Regions from separate parts of the Homo sapiens genome. Here regions 2, 3, 4 and 5 are each linked to region 1. Evidence: promoter capture Hi-C in 16 types of primary human blood cells and fetal thymus (Javierre and others, 2016). All regions are on one chromosome and are shown on one strand. The core of a region is centred on a gene start or on the middle of the fragment in contact, and the rest is flanking DNA. Distances in the headings are between cores, read along the strand shown. Region 1 holds the start of RPL7 (ribosomal protein L7). Region 2 has its middle 20 kb from the start of GDAP1. Region 3 holds the start of GDAP1 (ganglioside induced differentiation associated protein 1). Region 4 overlaps JPH1 (junctophilin 1). Region 5 overlaps JPH1 (junctophilin 1).

The links. Contacts are between HindIII fragments. The CHiCAGO score rates a contact against its expected background, and 5 or more counts as called.
Region 2: a fragment that was not itself captured here is called in contact with the fragment with the promoter of RPL7 in region 1 in 1 of 17 cell types (naive CD8 T cells); the score reaches 7.0 in naive CD8 T cells.
Region 3: a contact is called between the fragment with the promoter of GDAP1 here and the fragment with the promoter of RPL7 in region 1, in 14 of 17 cell types (total B cells, naive CD4 T cells, naive CD8 T cells and 11 more). The highest score is 23.8, in total B cells.
Region 4: a contact is called between a fragment that was not itself captured here and the fragment with the promoter of RPL7 in region 1, in 1 of 17 cell types (fetal thymus). The highest score is 8.8, in fetal thymus.
Region 5: a fragment that was not itself captured here is called in contact with the fragment with the promoter of RPL7 in region 1 in 1 of 17 cell types (fetal thymus); the score reaches 9.3 in fetal thymus.

Annotation. Positions count from the first base shown.
Region 1 is chr8:73,292,340-73,294,906 of GRCh38, forward strand. RPL7 (ribosomal protein L7) reads right to left here and starts at 1,294. Exons shown (of 7, transcript NM_000971.4): 1 at 1,260-1,294; 2 at 350-458; 3 at 1-66. The coding sequence starts at 1,273. It overlaps RDH10 (retinol dehydrogenase 10), which reads left to right and starts at 2,263. Exons shown (of 6, transcript NM_172037.5): 1 at 2,263-2,567. RefSeq lists enhancers at 546-1,254, 876-925, 936-1,295, 1,255-1,962, 1,416-1,905 and a silencer at 1,996-2,567. The HindIII fragment of the contact is 6,100 bases long and covers 44-2,567 here.
Region 2 is chr8:74,369,454-74,372,020 of GRCh38, forward strand. It overlaps a transcript of GDAP1 not described here. Among named protein-coding and RNA genes, the nearest start is that of GDAP1, 20 kb to the left of the region's middle. The HindIII fragment of the contact is 6,781 bases long and covers 1-2,567 here.
Region 3 is chr8:74,349,129-74,351,695 of GRCh38, forward strand. GDAP1 (ganglioside induced differentiation associated protein 1) reads left to right here and starts at 1,275. Exons shown (of 6, transcript NM_018972.4): 1 at 1,275-1,450; 2 at 2,146-2,338. The coding sequence starts at 1,334. RefSeq lists an enhancer at 1,288-1,517. The HindIII fragment of the contact is 8,708 bases long and covers 1-2,105 here.
Region 4 is chr8:74,315,597-74,318,163 of GRCh38, forward strand. JPH1 (junctophilin 1) reads right to left here. Exons shown (of 6, transcript NM_020647.4): 2 at 1-24. Among named protein-coding and RNA genes, the nearest start is that of JPH1, 4.7 kb to the right of the region's middle. The HindIII fragment of the contact is 1,108 bases long and covers 745-1,852 here.
Region 5 is chr8:74,297,821-74,300,387 of GRCh38, forward strand. All of the region lies in intron 2 of JPH1 (junctophilin 1), which reads right to left. Among named protein-coding and RNA genes, the nearest start is that of JPH1, 22 kb to the right of the region's middle. The HindIII fragment of the contact is 2,590 bases long and covers 1-2,567 here.

The DNA.
Region 1 (2,567 bases), core at 44-2,543:
CTGCCTATATTCCTTGTGATAGTGCTTTGCTTTTTCATAGATAAGCTTCCTCCTTGCCTTTCGAAGCTGAAAACCAATAATCAGTTATTCATAATTTTTAGCTCAATCACAATTAGCAATGCCAATCATTAAAAAGAAAACTACAACATGTTTCCTTTAAATCTTTTCTTGCCACAGTATGCAATTACATCCCCCACCAAAAAACCCCACTACCTTCAGATTGTAACATTAGGTAGCTAAGCAATTACTCAGTACAGTTAGGAAGTAAATCTTGCCAAGAACATTCACCTCATCCTCAATCCCAATAAGGCGCCTCCTTATGTGCTAGTGCCTCAAAAAGTTTACTTACCATCTTTTGGGCAAACTTCTTTCTCAGGCGCTTGATCTTCAGCTCTGCGAAATTCCTTCGCTTTTTCTTAAGGGTTTCTGGCACAGCAGGAACCTCCTTCTTCTTCTCTCTAACGTTAATAAACAAAAATGTTATCAATAGCTCAAAAAGCTCACAGCGCTGTATTACTCCCGTACTGAGCAGTGTTGTTTACCAGAAATGCTGTCACTGACTTTAGTCACTAGTAACTTTACTTGCTCTGGCATGCTACAGTGTACGATGCATATTTTAGCTCCATGTCAATAACCTTTAACACCATGTTGCCTAAAACGCAATCACAAATATGACAATAGCAATACGTTTTTCCCTATTTCAACCAAGAGGCCCGGCCTCCGACGACTAATTAAAAAAAAAAACAAAAAAAACACACCAACACCCGAATAACAAAATGTACTAGCTGAAAGACTACTGCAAGGCACTGACCCCGAGACTTTAAGCGCAAAAATTAAAAAATAAAAATAAAAAAAAAACAAGCCACCACCACTCTGGTTCAATCAGGATCCACATGTTGAAAGCAAAGGCCTGGCGGCAGGGAGGCCTGTACCAAGCACCAGCCAAGGACGAACACAATTCAGAGGTTCTGCGCCTCCCCCGAAAGACCCTCTACCGAGGACTGGGCCGTCAGCCAACCGACGGGTTCCACACACATTCCAACCCGACATCTCGTTCCCGGGATCTCCAAAACCTCCGTCCTAAGACCGCCCGCATCCCAACCCTAGCCTCAGGTCCCCACTGGTGTCACACAGCGTTCACAATCAAGCAGGGAGGTGGGCAAAGGTGCAAGCTACGGCCAGAGAGAGAAAAAGTGACACAAAAAGTATCTGGCTCTGGAGATGGAGAAGGATTCTCAAGAGGACCAGAAGCAACTCACTCTACACCCTCCATGGTTCCAGCCGGAAAAAGAGGAAGTTGGCGCATGCGTACTGTCCACTTAAAGACTTCGCGAGAGAAGCCCCACGACTCATAGGTGTCTTAGAATAAGCCGGAAAAGAATCCAGAACTAAAAAGCCGCCTTGCAGACGCAAAGAACTCCCTGATTTAGCCTCTTTCAACAAACTTTCGGGTAAAACTTGTTTGAAGAAAATATATGCATTTGATTAGACTTTTTAATCAATTCAAGAGCAAAGAGTGCTGACACCTTGGCAACTCCGGGTCCTAATCCCCAGGCTGCGCTGACAGGATTAGGCTCCGTTCCTCCCCATAATGTTCCCAGGACGAGCCTCATGGGGACGAACTACAAATCCCAGCATGCACCAGTCTTCGCCCGCCCGGCGGGAGGGCAACGGCTGACCAGGACCGCAGGCAAGCACCGCGGCGACGGTTCCAGCCAGGAAAATGAGAGCCTCTTGGGCCACGTTCCAAACGGCTAGCTGCAATTCGAAGTCACTTTTGGCCGCCCTCCCGGCTCCCTGCCGCGGTAGTCGCAGACTACACCCCTTTCGCCGCTCCGCGAGGTCCTTGTCGTCGCTCCAGCCCACAGGGCTGTCTTCCGCAGCGCCTGATCGCAGGCGGGGCGGTCTGGAGTGCTCTAGCTTACGAAAAGTGGCTAGCCAGGGACCAGTGGGGACCGGACGGCCGGAGGAGGATGGCCGGGGCTCTGCTGACTGCCGAGCTCGGCAGGCGGAGGCCAGGACACCCCACGGGAGGGGGCGTGAGCTGCGAAGGGAGGTGCGAGGAGGGCTGAGGTTGCGGCCACGGCCGTGTGAGAGGGGCTACCCGGCTCGGCTCCGCGGACGGCTGGCGGGCTGGGGGCTGGGCCGGGGGCGGGGTGCGCCCGGGGGCGGGGAGGCCGGGCGGAGGGAGGGCCGATGCCGAGGCTGGCGCGGGCTCTTCCCGGTCGCGGGGTTATATAGCGCGGAGCGTGGAGCCCGCTCAGAGCCGGCCCGGAGCGCTCTGACTTGCAAGCGGGCTGCGCTGCGGAGCCCAGTGCCCGAGTGACACCCGCGGAGAGTGCAGGGCCGGGGAACGCGAGCCCTCGGGGGCAGCTGCAAGGCGTTGGGCAGCGCTTGCCTGCGCCGAGCGAGTCTCCCCTTCCCGGCGCTCCGCCGCCCCGCACCCCACTCTCCCACCCTCTCGCAACTTGGGTCGAGTTGACAACTCCCGCGGCAGCCCGCTGGCCCGTGCCGCCTCCGCTGCGCACCCCTCCCCCGGGGTGAGAGGGAGCCGGCGCGCCGGTTCC
Region 2 (2,567 bases), core at 33-2,532, 1.1 Mb after region 1:
AAATTACATAAGTGAAAAATTCATTGGATGGGCTTCACAGCAGATGGAAGATGGCAAAAGGAAGATAAAGAAACACAGCCTCAGGAACATGTGGAAAATATCAACTGGTCTAATATGTGTGTTACGGGAGTTCTAAAAAGAGAACAAAGAATGGGGCAGGAAATTGTGTGTGTGTGTGTGTGCATATATATATATATATTTAAATAATGCCATATTTTCCCAAATTTGATGAAAAAACATTTACTTACTCGTCCAAGAAAATCACTGAACTCAGTGAAAGATAAATACCAAGAAAGCCTCACGTAGGCATATCATTGTCAGACCGCTGAAAACAAAAAAATCTTGAAAGCAGTTAGAAGGGGAAAAAAAAGATATACACAAGAGAATGATGATAAGAATGTGTGCTGACTTACCAGAAATAGTGGAATGCAGACAACAATGAAAATGTCTTTAAAGTGCTGATGGGGTGGGAAGGGGTGGTGAGGGAATCCTGCCAATTCAAAATTTTATATCCAGAGAAAATACCCCTTAAAAACTTGGGTTTTAAAGACACTTTATTTCATATAAATTGAAGCCAAGAGAAGTTGGATCCAGCAGGCCCCTGCAAAACCAAAAACTGCTAAAGGCCATTTTCAGACTGATGGAGAATGATACAAAATGGAAACCAAATCCACAGAGAGGGGAAAGAAAAGTAGTGCCAGGAATGGCAAATAATGGGTACATATAAAGACTTTCATTGCCTCATAATTTCCTTAAAAGGTTACTGTTTAGAACAAGAATAATAGCATTATTATGTAAAATGTAAATTTCTGGGCTCTATAATATATGTGGAAGTAAATATATGAAAAACACAAAGGTTGGAGGAAGTGGATGAATGGAATTACACTATTGTAAAGCTATTAGGTTAGTGATATGTAAAGAATGAAGTGTGAGGACAGATGTGCCAAATGAAAAGTATCAAGTGGGAAGTGTGAAGAAGGAAGTAGTGTCAAGGGTGAAGTAGTGCAATTTTGACACTAAATAAACTCTGATAAGAACACGTTGTTAGCTCTGGAGGAACACTAAAATTTAAAAAATCCCTAAGAAACAAATAGAAATAAAATACCAATGAAAGAAGCAACAAAACAAATAAACAGAAGGGACAAATGGAAAACATAGCAAGGTGGTAGACTTAAACACACCAAAGCAATAATTGCATGATATGTAAATGTAAATAGCATTGAATGTAAAATGTTCCAATTGAAGGTCAGAGATCAGATAAGAATGCAAGACACAAGTATGCGCTATTTATGAGATGTACTTTAAACATGCATAAACTGAACATAAAAGTATGGAAAGCGATATACCAGGTATACATCAAGAAAGGTGGTATGGCCATATTAATTTCAGAAAAAGTGGAGTTTAAGACAGAGTTTTACAAGAGACAAAGAGGGACATTTATGAATCACAAAAGAATTTATTAGGAAGACATAATCATAAATACATATTCATCTAAGAGCTTCAAAATGTATGTGGCAAAATCTGACAGAACCAATGGAAAATGTTAGTTGGAGATTTTGTCACTATTCTCTCAGTAATGAATAGATAAAATAGACAGAAATTCAATTGGGATATAGAAGATCTGAGCACACTGTCAGCCAACTTGATCTCATTCACATTTACTAGACATACTCAAAAACTGTGGAATAAACATTCTTTTCATGTGCATATGGAATGCTCATCAAAGTAGACATATTCTAGGCCATAAAACAAATCTCACTAAATATTCAGATTTTTATGTTGCAGAGTATATTCTGTGGCCATTGTGGAATTAAGTGAAAAATCAACAACTAAAATATTTTAAACATTTTCAAATATTTGGAAATTAAATAGCACATTTGTAACCCATGGCTGAAAGAAGAAATCATAAGGGAATAAGAAAATATGGCCGGGCGCGGTGGCTCACGCCTGTAATCCCAGCACTTTGGGAGGCCGAGGCGGGCGGATCACGAGGTCAGGAGATCGAGACCATTCTGGCTAACACGGTGAAACCCCGTCTCTACTAAAAATACAAAAAATTAGCCGGGCGTGGTAGCGGGCGCCTGTAGTCCCAGCTACTTGGGAGGCTGAGGCAGGAGAATGGCGTGAACCCGGGAGGCGGAGCTTGCAGTGAGCCGAGATCGCGCCACTGCACTCCAGCCTGGGCGACAGAGCGAGACTCCGTCTCAAAAAAAAAAAAAGAAAATATTTTGAGTTGAATAATAAAAATACACTTCAGAATTTGTGAGATACAGCAAAGGCAGTGCTTAGAGGGAAATTTATAGTTTGTTAAAAATTTTTTATTTTTTTTTATTATTATACTGTAAGTTCTAGGGTACATGTGCACAATGTGCAGGTTTGTGACATATGTATACATGTGCCATGTTGGTGTGCTGCACCCATTAACTCGTCATTTACATTAGGTATATCTCCTAATGCTACCCCTCCCCCCCCACCCCATGACAGTCCCTTGTGTGTGATGTTCCCCTTCCTGTGTCCAAGTGTTCTTATTGTTCAATTCCCACCTATGAGTGAGAACATGTGGTGTT
Region 3 (2,567 bases), core at 25-2,524, 1.1 Mb after region 1:
AAGAATTACAGAGAGTAACAAATGAAGTACTGTAAAGGCAAGGAAGAACCTCATGAGATTTTGTCTTTTCCAGGGGCCCTTCTCTGACCTGGGTTGGCTGCCTGCCCCTCCTTTCTCATAGTACTCTGTGTTCACCCTAAGACAGTTCTCATCTTTATTGTGATTGTCTATTTCCTTGGTCGTCTCTACTGCCAGATTATATCTTGAGTGTTAGATATTAGATTTCACACATCTTTATATTACCAGGAGCCAGCACAATGTCTGGAACAGTGTAGGTGCTCAATAAATATTTGCCAGATAAATTATACAGGCATTTATTCTATGGTCATATTTATACATATTACTGAAAGAGATTTTTAAAATCAACTTACTATATGATGCCAAATTTTTAAAGACATACAATAATAACTAGACTAATATAAAATTATGATTCTGACTATGGTTATAACAGAATGTTTATAAGACAACTGAACCTGTGACTAAGACTGAGTGCCTACAACGTGACAGGGTGTTCTGAGTGTTTAACATTTTATTATTAATTTTTCACAAAAATCTTATGAGGGAAACAATAAAATTATTATTCTTACTTAGAAAATGGAAAAACCAGGATATGAACTTAGGCAGTACTGTTGTAGAATTTTTGTGTTTAACAACTAGGCTATTTTATATCGCCATTGTTTATTAGCTGTTTATGACAAAAACAGTTTTTTTGCATGACTCCATAGTGGTATTTTTTTTTCTTTTACAAAGCACAGTTTAATTATCAAAATCAAGTACTTACTGTTTATACAAGACTATTCTCTAATCTACAGCAGTTAGTCAAATTTGTGGAATTAGTCCACTAATGTCATAGTAGCATCTTCTAATGAAAGCTCATAGATCCTTTTCCTGTTGCTTTGCTTGTCGACCGGAACTTCCTTTCCAACAAAGGAACAGGCTCCAAGAGCAACCCTCAGTATCTTGGGAAATTGCTGCTTTTATACCTGAGCAACCTCCAAACCGAAGAGTAATTTGCTATCATCATTCTTCCTTACTGCCCTTCATAACCAGGGTCTCATATTTTTTATTTTTTCTTCTAAAAAAAAAAACAAACCCAAAAAACAACCGTTCAATTGCACCTCCCAGGTGCACTCCCAGGCTTGCCAGGGGCTTTCCAGTCGCAGACCCCGCGTGTTCGCAGACTCTGCCGCCGGCGAAACTACATTTCCCAGCGGGCCGCGCGCCCTCCTTCCGGCAGGTACCCCTCAAAACCCGGAAACGCCTTGCGGGGCAGTGTGGGAGGGAGAAGTCCAGGGCGGACAGGCTGGGCGCACCCGTGCTCGCGCACCCCAAGATGGCTGAGAGGCAGGAAGAGCAGAGAGGGAGCCCGCCCTTGAGGGCGGAAGGCAAGGCCGACGCGGAGGTTAAGCTCATTCTGTACCATTGGACGCATTCCTTCAGCTCTCAAAAGGTACAACAGGCCTTGGCGGCGGAGGGTGGCGCGGATCGGGCTTCAGCACTGGGACAGCTCCTTCTGAGTCCCGCCCAGGGAAGCCGGTCCACCTAGAAATCCGCCTCCAGTGTCCTGACCCCGGGCAGGCGCTCCCTCCAGGCGGGGACGCGCCCGGGTGGGGAGCGGGGAGAATCGATCGGAGATGATCCTATGTGGCTATGGCCCAGGCTCCGCCTCTCGCGAAATGCGACAAAAAAGCATCATTTTCAGTATTTGGTCTGGAGGCCTTGCCTGCTGGTCTTCGGAGAGAGGCAGAGGGAGGTGCCTTTGTGGACCCTCATAATCTGCGATCTCTTCTTTTGCTCTCTCGCATTCACTGTCTTCAGCAAGAGCTGATGTACCTACATGTCAGGTTCTTGTCTGGGGAGGACCCATAATCAGGTTTAGGACACCGAGAAAGTGGTAGTGATGAGGAGGGTGACTGTTTAATGAATACAGTCAGAATCATTTCATTACTTATTTTGTGTTCTTCTCTTAATTTGTTGAGTATTGTTCTTTCCTTACTTGTTAATTCCAGGAATAGGAATTGTTAAAACGACTGTTGAAAATGTCGGTAACACAGGGAAGCCCAGAAAGGCTGCTTAGCGGTGTCCAGGGAAGTCATTTAATTGAAAGCTTACATGTGTTGTAGTAACCAGTGTGAACTCTTCCAGGTGCGCTTGGTAATTGCTGAAAAGGCATTGAAGTGCGAGGAACATGATGTAAGTCTGCCCTTGAGTGAGCACAATGAGCCTTGGTTTATGCGTTTGAACTCAACTGGAGAAGTGCCTGTCCTTATCCACGGGGAAAACATAATTTGTGAGGCCACTCAGATCATTGATTATCTTGAACAGACTTTCCTGGATGGTAATGTTAAGGCTACTTGCGATTTCTTGGATTTACTTTCAACACAACTATGTGTTCCCTTTCTCTTTTTCTCTCTCTCCTCTCTCTCTTTCTCTTGTGTCATGATGGTGGTTTGGGATTAAAAACCTTTTCCATTTCCATAAGCACACAAATATCAAATAGGTCAATAACAAATTTTGTATAGGCTAGTGTAATGCTATTTAAAATAATTTAATGCAAAATACAAATG
Region 4 (2,567 bases), core at 49-2,548, 1.0 Mb after region 1:
CGGCCCACTGGCCCTGGTAGGTACCTTGGAGAGACCGCAAGAAAGCACCGTGAGTCGGGGGCAGAGCTGCACCGTCACCTGCACCATCCAGCGCACACTGGCGCAGGCCTGCCCAAGGTCAAATCTGACCCATTTCCAAGTCAACCCTGGGGGATACTTTGCATCCACTTGTGAATCCCCGCCCTGTAATTTTGGGTGTAAGGCTTTAATGTCATTGCACAGAATTTTCTAGTAGTCAGATAATTTTTGCTTTTCATTAAAATTTTATGCAAGTATTTCAGAGGAAAACCACTACTTTCTAATACAAAAAGTGAACACTGGGAAACAACATTCTCCTCTGAAATTAATGCATCAAAAATTCCTCTTGGGAAGAAGACAAGGAAACAGTAGAAGATGAAATGAATTCTATGTGTAAATTTTATTCTAATATTACTAATTTAGCTGGAAAACTGTAAAAAATGACTTTTAGGTCTATGTCAGTATAACATTCCAAGAAGTATACAGGCTTAAATCGGAATACTTGGGACACAGTCATCAAATGAACGTCTTAAATTTTCTGCTACATTCAGCATCTCTTTTTTTAGTGTAGACAAAACTGTTGAATATTCAGGATTATCATTTGAATTTGGGTGAACCTTTTTGAGCTAAGAGAGAATCGACAACCACAATATATATTATGAATACAGTGAATTATGAAAAAAATGAGTAATTTAACATTTTTGTGCTTCTAAGTGAAAAGGCCAAAGCTTTGTGCCGTATCATTTGCCAAATCTCTGCATCCTCTATGGATTTCCCTAGCTGCCACTGCATTGTGAATCACACCACAGACTAGAAGCACCCTGAGGGCAGGAATTACTTCGTATGAGAACACAAAATTCTCATGTGTCCTCTGGTCTGTGTTTGTGGATGGAGGGTGTTTGATGACTATGTTGACGGTAAAAAGCTATGGTGGCTAAAAAGTATACCCTTTACTCTTGGAGAAACTGATGTAAGGCCAGATGAAATCTTCTACTGTTACCATTTTGGACTTCATCTCAGAGGAAAGGTATATTTGACACTATCTATTAAAATGTTGATACCAGATGACTCTGTCAACAAATATTATGCTTTTTCATGATAGTCTGTCATCTAGAGCATTTGTAGTGAATTTTTTGCTACTAAATAAATAAGCAAAGACATTAAAAAATAACCTGGTACAGGTTTTAAAATAATCTTAGGAGGAAATGAATGTTAAATTAGGGAATTTAGAAGTTTCTTTTCAAAATCAATTTCCTTTAATTAAGGGTAAATTTTAATTTACAGTATCCCTCAAAAGAAGCTATCTGGAAAATTTAAAATGTAATTACTTCTGTGTTATTCATAACAATTCACAATGTCATAGAAAACAAATAATGATTAGTCTGTCTTGACCTCTTTCCATTTCTGATTATATAGATCTACCCTGCAGTCACTTTGCATTTTATATTTCCATGCACAGATTTCCATTGCATGGCACATATTCATTTTCAAAACACCGGGCAAAAATGCTAGTGGTTTTATATAACTGTGTTAACAATGGCTGGTTATTTCATTGCACTTAAAAGTTAAAACCATAATGACTCCCAAGTCAACGGTTTTGACCAATTTCAAGACTACCTTCTCTTTTTGTTCATTCTGGCATATGTGACACAGGCAATAGTAGATATACAATGAAATACTAAGTGGGTCTGGTACTGTAAATGTCATATTCTGGGTAGATGTGAAGTCTTAACTTGACATCTATGAACTTCTGAGGAGGTGGGTGGCCCACAGTTTTCTCTGAAAGATTAACTCAAGAGGATAAGATAGTCATGTAAAACATTTCAGGCTAAGAAGCTTCCTATTGAATACTGGCCATCTCCAAATACCGCCATCTTAACAGGAATGGGAATGGAATTATTAGGAAATTTTGACTTTGACTTTTCCTTTGCCTATACAGGTAAAATTTAAATTCTAGGATGAAAGTTTCACAATCTGGCTTGAAGATACTAAAATAAACCACCTTATTTTTAATATTTTGTTGGTTAAAAGAATGCTATAATCACATCCTCCTAACTTTTGTCTATAGTGACAAGTTAATTTTGCTAGAACAATTTGCAGAGATGCTGTTTGATATCAATAAGTATCTGCACTTTTAAAACACAGCCATACCATCTTGGTAAATGTTTAACACTGATGGAAAATTAACAGCTAGTTTCTTTAAACTGTTATCTCCAAAAATAAGACTAGTACAGTATTTAGAATTTCCAAAAAAGTATGGCTTGAAAATCCAAGCTGTTTAAGGCAACAGCAATAATTAGAAAGTTTAAGTCTCTGCTTAACTGTCAAATAGGGAAGGGGGGGACAAGAGCATTGGCCACATTCCTCTCCTATTTTGTTAAATCACAGTATATGAAAGAATTCCTCCACAGAATTGCTAGAAACCAATTTGCAGTCAAACTGTTAGCAGTTCATCTGAAATTTAAAATAGGTTTAGTTTAGTCAATGAACCTAGAATAAGAAAGGGCCTATTTCTTTATGAAGCAGGTGGGTTCCAACTTCTCCCTGCT
Region 5 (2,567 bases), core at 26-2,525, 1.0 Mb after region 1:
ATCTAGATAGTGTGATGACTACTCTTATTACCCCTTAAATAAAAAGTACTTGCTAATTTGATTTTAGATGATGAAATTATATAGAGAAATTACATTTATAACAACAATTGAACCTTGTCTAGCATTTTGTCTTAATAGTAGCACAAAAATAATTCTCTGCTTCTTTCCACACACAGGTCATCATCTCTGCCTCTTCTTTAGAGATTTCTCTATTCCAGCCCCCTCTACTCACTTTCCTAATAATTGCTGTTATAAATGCCAGTGCCAATCTCCAATTTTGATGTATTCATATCCTCGGGAAGCTGCTAAGTGCTCAAGGCTTCAAAGTACTGTTCTTACTTGAAACTCATGTTATCTTTTTATCTATCACCTTGAATGTCCACACATCAGATTCACTATCTTTCTCCCCATAATGTCTCCATCAGCCTTTATGGTGCCACTTATGCTCTTAGCTAATTGTACTCACATCCTTAGAACGTTAACTCCCTTGTATACAGCTGGTTGTTGTATACAAGATGGGTTTTCCTTTACAAATTTCAAGGGTGCAGTTCTTTATTGCCTAGATGCATTTATTCATGTCCTTTATGATCTCATCCCCAACTTCTGCTGCTTGCAATCTACCTTGAGCACTGTAGCTAAAATCACTCTCCTCACATGTTGTTTTGCTCCTGTTAATAACTTCCTCGGCACTCTGAAACGGTTTCCACTTGTGTGTTGCATAATACCCTGGTTAGTGCTTTTCAGATCCTTTAATAGTCAGGCACCCCTTATCTAATTGTCCTCTTCTCTTGCCATGACTCAGCTGTACTCGACGGCACTGCAACGCAAAATCCAGGTGGGTTTGTTGTAAGACTTTTCAAAAGAGGATGAAGCTACAGGGTACAAATCTGACAGTAGGGCTGTAGCTAATATCTCCACCACTTTCCTAACTTTCCTACAACAGCATTCATTTTCAGAAATATGAGTAGTCATACCACTGCTGTTCTCCACAAATTTATTACCTTTCTGGATGTTTTTCCTGGTGGTAGAATGAAGGCACGAGAGACCTGTGTGCATATGAAAGATCCTTGTTTTCAGGTTCTACTACTGGCAATGGGAGCCATTACGAAACATCAACCCAGAATATCAGGAGAAGATTAAACAGGCTATGAAGCTAAAATTAAGACCTATTACAAAAAGCCACGAAGACGACACTGCCCACAAATAATGAACACTGGTGACCTTTACTGCCTTTGAGGGGGTTTTTTTCTCCTCGGGCTGTACATCATTAGATGGGGTCTTCTCCCACCTGGTAAAATTTCGATCCACTGTGAACAAATCTTCCCTTAGCTTCCCTTTAAAATGTTGCCGAAGGACCAACTTCTTTACGAAGTCATTCCAGAGCAACTCTTCCTGGCACCAGACACACTAATCATACCGGGACCTTCTTTATTCACCTCGTCTTTCTAATATTTCTCCCTTTTTCTCATTATTCAGTATTTCTTTAGGGTGTTAAGTGTAGCCTAAAGCTGCCTCCTTACATATTTTACATTCAGCCTAAAGGTTTCTCTGCACACCACGAACTATAACCTAAATGGAGTTGTATACAGATTGTAGCTTACTCTTGTGTCAATCACTGAGTTTTGGGCCAATCAAAGGGGGTCAACGATTCGAGCCGTGTTCAAATAAGGCAAATGACGAGCTGTAGCCAATCAGCTGTTTCTGTACCTCACTTTCCTTCTTCTGTCTATAACCCTTCTTCAACTACACAGCTGCACTGGAATCTCTGTACCCACTCTGGCTCGGGTGGCTGCCTGATGTGCGAATTGTTCTTTGCTCAATTAAACTCTGTTAAATTTGGCTAAAGTTTTTCTTTTAACCACAGCCACATATGCATATTTACATAGACACTGTTTATGGGGAGCGGGGTGCCTGTCTGAGGCTTGTTTTGTTTTTTCCCTTTGTTGGTGTATGCCTTCTATTTCCCTTGAAGTATCTTTAACATGTTGTCATTGGGTGCTGAATACAGTGGCACATCTTTAACTGTTACAAATATAGCAACTGTAATTTAAAGAAAACTTTTAAACAATAAAGTTTTGTAGCTGAACTTTTAACACCACAAAAGTGATTCATTACTAAAAAGTTTAAAGAAAAAAAGAAAAGAAAACCTTCAATATGTTCTTCTCGCCCTCGTTTTCACTTACGGAATTAAACAGTAGTGACTACTTACTCTAGAATCACATTTTCATAGTTCCAACAATGGGCTGAAAGTTACTCTGATCTAGCGAAGAGTTAGAATAATTTTTCAAAATGCTTTTACTGTCAAATTCACACAGTACCATGAAAAACAACAAAAACAAAATATCACTAGGCTATAGGCCAAGTAAAAGTCTTTGGAACTGCTTTATAAACAAGTCAATCCACTCCTTTGTTAATTCCTAGAAGACTAGCCATTTTGACGTTTATATAAACTATGAAACCTTCATGGAATGTGGCAGAGCACTAATAAACAAATACGGGACTGACTGAATTGCTTCGTGTTATTTTTTTAACTACCTCCCATGTACATGCATTTTCTCTAATTGACT